Linked DNA regions of Homo sapiens: region 2 is linked to region 1. The links are contacts of gene promoters, found by promoter capture Hi-C in blood cells and fetal thymus (Javierre and others, 2016). All regions are on one chromosome and are shown on one strand. The core of a region is centred on a gene start or on the middle of the fragment in contact, and the rest is flanking DNA. Distances in the headings are between cores, read along the strand shown. Region 1 holds the start of ABHD4 (abhydrolase domain containing 4, N-acyl phospholipase B). Region 2 has its middle 5.4 kb from the start of OR6J1.

Region 1 (2,630 bases), core at 48-2,547:
TCCCCAGTCTGGTTTTTTTTGTTTGTTTGCTTGTTTGTTTTTGGTTTTTGAGATGGAGTCTCACTCTGTCTCTCAGGCTGGAGTGCAGTGTCACAATTTTGGCTCACTGCAACCTCCGCCTCCTGGGTTCAAGCAATTCTCCCTGCCGCAGCCTCCCCAGTAGCTAGGATTACAGGTGCCTGCTACCACACCTGGCTAATTTTTTGTATTTTTAGTAAGAGATGGGGTTTCACCATGTTGGCCAGACTGGTCTCGAACTACTGACTGCAAGTGATCCACCCACTTTGGCCTCCCAAGGTGCAGGGATTACAGGCGTGAGCCACCGCGCCCCACCCCTAGTCTGGTTTTAACTAAGGGGATGATCTGAAATCTGACAGTTCCAGGGAGGTCAGGCCCTGTTTACCGGTACAAGCAAATTCAGCAGCCAGCCTCAAGATTTAGCTCCTCTGCTGAGCAAACTGAAGTGCACTCAGGACCTCTGGGCCAAGCCAGCCTTATCTCCCTGTCCCCGCATTTACATACCGAAAGGAGACCTAGCCTTATTGGTGAGTCCTTCAACTGTTATCCTCCAAACTGAGGGTGACCTGGAGTTGAGCTATATTTTCCCTGGAAAATAGGTTGGGGTCAGAGTCAACATCAGAGCAGAGATATGCCCATTTTGGCAGATGTCATATAGGTTTAGGTTTGCCAGAGAAAATACAGGATGCCTACTTATGTCCCAAATACTGCATGGCCCATACTTATTCTAAAAAAGTATTTGCTTTATTTAAATCTGGAATTTACATTTAACTAGGTGTCCTGTATTTTAGTTTCGAAATCTGGCATCCAGGCCCTTTGTAGGAGCATTCAACCAATGGCGTTGTCTCCACAAACATTTAAGCCTCTTACTAGAAGGAACATTAACAAGGGTCGATTTCAGGAGGACACAGTTACAATGGGAAGCCCAAAGAGTGGGTGCGAGCGTGCAGGCGTAGTTCTACCACTTTTTAGTTATGAGAGAAGGGAGGGCTGTCGGAGCTCCTGCAAGGACTCCCCCAAATGTGTGACCAGGATTACTGTCCCATTCTGAGACCGTCAGAGACATCTCTGCCGGGACACATGCCAGTGATTGAAAACACAGCAAGGGCCCCACTAGCTGAAACCAAGTTGCAGAGTTTTGAGGGTCCCACCGCCGACCGCCGGCCCGCCGCGAGCCCTGCCCCCTGCGCGGCCACGCCCCCTTGCTCCCCGCGGCCTCCCGGGTCAGCTGGTGCTGGCGTCAGGCGCTGGGCGGGCTCGCCAGGACCTGGCAAGGCTTGTTTACTATGGCCGATGATCTGGAGCAGCAGTGAGTTAATCCTGTCCCTTTCTCTCTTTCTCTCTCTCTCTCTGGGCCATGATCCTGGGACTGTCTGTGGCTGAGGAACAGTTGTAGACACCTTCCCGCTCTTCCTTTTCCAGGTCGGCCTCCGGGGAGGGCGGGGGGTGGGTGCGTTGCTTGCTTTGCATTTGCCCAGAAGAGGCAGCGGCTGAGCCTGGGGAGCCATGGGAGACGCGCTCGCCCGCAGCCCGGGGATCCTGGCTTTCTACCTTAGTCCTCGCGAGTGCCCCTCATTCTCCTCTGGCCTCTGGAGAGATTCCATGTTGATGTGTGAGATCCCCGAAAGCAAGCTTGTGGGACGCGGGTGCGGAGGTAGCAGCCAGGCGTGCTCGTCTCGACTTGCCCCCCAGAACGGCAGTCGTGGGGATGGAGAGAGCCTCCTCCCTCCGCCCGGCAAAGAGAAGATGTGGAGAGACTGGAGAGGTCTCCATCGCGCTGAAATTGGTGTGGAACAACGGGCTTGCAAGTTTCTTTAGCTGTCGCCCACCGAGACACGTAGCCGCATGTGATCCTAGTTGATAATGCTTTTAATAATCGTAACAACATCTTTAATGCAATGGTTTCAGATTTAGAGCTATTGGGATTTGCTACCACTCTTTCAAGGGCATCAGGTTTGGGATACCACCTGTAGGTGGTGTGACTAGCAGTTCGCAATCTGATAGGAGTAAGAAAAAGTTGCTACGAGAAGAATGACTCAGCTCCCAGCCGAGCCTTGGTTTCACCAGAACTGGGCCTTTCCTGGACCCAGTAATCCTGTTTTTCAGACCTGTAGAACTGGAAGTCCGGGGAACTAATTAACTTTATGACCATAATTAATAGCTTGCTGGGCTTGAAAGAAATGTCCAGGGGAATGTTTTACTTTCTAAGATGACTTTTCCAAGAGGAAATTTGCAATGCTTTAAAGGACTTAGGGAGGCAGAATATTAGAGCTGGAGGACATGCAGGTAGTTCAGCTCCTTTTTAAAAATGAAGAAGCTGGTGTCCATAGAAATTAGGAGACTTGCCCAAGATCACAGAGGTCTAGAACAGGATTCTCTCCCAGCACAGAACCCCTTGTGCTTCACCCCCATCAAGTTGACAGAGACCGTCCTAGCCAGGTTAAGTTCATGGCTGAATGTCTTTTCTGCTCCTTGCCTCAATTTCCCACTCCAGCCCTTACCTCCCGCATAGTTTTGAGCACATACAGTGTGCCAGGCACCATTTCCAGTGTTTACTTGTAACATTTTTGGTGAAGAAGGAAAGCAAAGTAATTCTCCCACCAAGGACTCTC
Region 2 (2,630 bases), core at 44-2,543, 51 kb after region 1:
TAAAGCCAAAGTTCATGAAAGGGAACACGATCTATTATAATATCCATCACCCAACCACAGTGACTGATCCAAAGAGTGACCATCCAACCCAAGGCAGGCCAGGAATCCCTCCTTTAGAATCCATATGTTGGAGCAGAGTTAGGAAAAGCTCTCTCCTCTGGGCTCAAAAGCTGTGATGATGTAACCCTGAGCTGCCAGTAGATCTACACCCAGCCTCACCCTTCCACTGTTGCACGGAGAGAGCCTTTCTGCTGTCTGGATTCATGAGGACAACACACCAATGGAAATGCAGCTAAGAGACAGAGATAGAATTTGGACACTGTTGTGTATGACTGGATCAGTCATGCCTGAGGCCTGCCAACAATATCCTTTCTGATTGTACAAGCCAAAAAATCCTCCGTTTTTCTTAAGTTCATTTGAATTATGGTCTTCTGCAGTCATAAGAGCTCTAACAAACACAGAGACTAATTAGTAAGACGCTGGTGGGTACTTTTCTGAAAAGTTGTGTAGAGTTGGGGCTGGAGTAGGTGCCATAGCAAACCAAAGTGATTCCTAAGCTGAAGTCATAGGGGAGCAAATAAACCATCAGTGATAGTAGAGACCTTGTTTCAAAGAGAAGTGTAACAGTAGCTTAGACTCAGAGACAAGTAATGACTGAGGGAACACGGGCCCACCGGAAAGGATGGTGGCAGCCTGAGCTGCTGACTTTCTTGTTCCAATCCCTGTGTGCCTTGTTCCTACTCTTGGATGCCCATGAGAGACTGCCTGATGTATTCTTTCTACAATCTTACACATACACACACACACTCACATACACACAAGACTTTAGTCAACTAGCTTGAGTAAGCCTCTGTTTTTTAAATTCAAAGTATCAATGAGTAAGAAAATAGTGTTCATACATCACATTTCTAATCAGAAAGTTATTTTTAAGATCCAAACAAACTTTTGCTCTACAGAAATTTATTTAACATAAATGACATTTATAAATTTATAGATTAAGGCAAAAATTCACTTTAAAGGTCAATGACCTTTGGACAATTTCTGTACAAGGACAATACTTCCAGAAAGTTTAAGGCTGTCAACCTTATTCTGCTTTAACTCCAGCCACTCTCATGTCTGCCTTCCCTTACTTGAGCATGGTAATGGGTCTGGCAACTGGCTAATTATAATAGGCGACAAGGATGAATATGTTTTAGGCCCAACCAACAATTTTATGATGTACTAGCAACTCTCATGAGGATGTCATTCATAAGTTGGTTTTTTTTTAAGTACTAGTTCCACTATATAATTGATGTTTTATATTAGCCATCTCCCCCTCCCCACAATTGTATATGATCATAGGAATAGAATTTTGAAGATGGAAGGACCCTAGTTCTATAACCTCCTCATGTCACAGAAGGGTGTTAAGTCTAACACAGGTCAAATGAATCACCCAAGGTAACAAAACTTTGAAGGCAAAAACTCCAGCTTTCTTGACCAGAGCAGTATAGAGAAGAAAATCAATGAAAGCTAGTGGTACAGGCACAGGATTCATGGAAGATGTGAGATTAAAATCAAGACTTAGCCTTTCAATACAGGGCAATGAGTACCACCAGACTATGAGTAGAAAGAGCCAGGTACTGGCTCAGGCTATGCCTTATCCATTTATATGACTCCCTGAAGGTAGAAACTAGGTTTTATTCTTCGTGGTATTCCCTACGCCCAATATCATAACAAAGACATGAGAGAAACTCAATAAAAAAGTGAATAAGGAGTGGGTGAGTAAGTAAGCAAATAGATAGGAAACCTAATACTCTGGAGAAGTCTATGTAGAAAAGGAAAAAAAGGGCCGGGTGCTGTGGTTCATGCCTGTTATCCCAGCTACTGAGGAGACTGTGCCCGGAGGATCCCTTGAGCCCAGGAGTTTGAGACCAGCCTGGGCAACATAGTGAGCCCTCATCTCAGAAAATGGGAATAGAGCCTCGGTGAAAGCCTTCAGTTAAAAGGCAGGAGAAGGAGTCACCACTGGGAACAAGAGAAAGAGTAGTGAGAAAGCAAACCAACAGAAAGCCAGTGGTACAGGATTAGCAAGCAGGGGAGGAGAAATCCAAGACGTAGGTATGTCAGCAGTGCCAGAAACTAGGAAAAGGTTATGAAACATGAGAGCGAAGGAAAAGTCATTGGATAAAAAATTTTTAAGGCTAAGTGTCTATTGCTAAGCAAGACTAGCAGCATATTTTGGCTAGGCAAGAACTGGGGTTCCAGTGTGGCTGAGAAGAGCAGAAAACATCCATCCCCAGCCTCGCACCACTGGCATGCTTCCTGAACCCACCCCTCAGAATATCTGCTTACATTAGTGCCTCTATTTCCACAGCAAATAGAGATAAGAAGAGTCCCTTTATATCTATTTGCATATACCAAATTATGTTAAAAATCAGGATTCTCCCAGGGGTAAAAACGGACTGGAAAAAAAAAAAAAGGACTGGAACGTTGATCCTCATTTAGATTCAAGAACATAAAAATAGGTCTGATGTATGCAAGTGCCCGTAGTCTGAGGTTAGGTTACAGAAAAGGATTATGGAGCCTCTAAGAAGGAACTCACCACAAGGGAAGAAGGACTCTGAACTGGTGAGCTGTGTTCAGGCACAGCT

Evidence for each region. Contacts are between HindIII fragments. The CHiCAGO score rates a contact against its expected background, and 5 or more counts as called.
Region 2: a contact is called between a fragment that was not itself captured here and the fragment with the promoter of ABHD4 in region 1, in 4 of 17 cell types (M0 macrophages, M1 macrophages, megakaryocytes and 1 more). The highest score is 7.0, in M0 macrophages.

Annotation. Positions count from the first base shown.
Region 1 is chr14:22,597,003-22,599,632 of GRCh38, forward strand. It overlaps ABHD4 (abhydrolase domain containing 4, N-acyl phospholipase B), which reads left to right and starts at 1,298. Exons shown (of 7, transcript NM_022060.3): 1 at 1,298-1,327. The coding sequence starts at 1,305. RefSeq lists a silencer at 983-1,182 and an enhancer at 1,293-1,532. The HindIII fragment of the contact is 5,320 bases long and covers 1-1,648 here.
Region 2 is chr14:22,648,460-22,651,089 of GRCh38, forward strand. No RefSeq gene overlaps it. Among named protein-coding and RNA genes, the nearest start is that of OR6J1, 5.4 kb to the left of the region's middle. The HindIII fragment of the contact is 5,780 bases long and covers 1-2,630 here.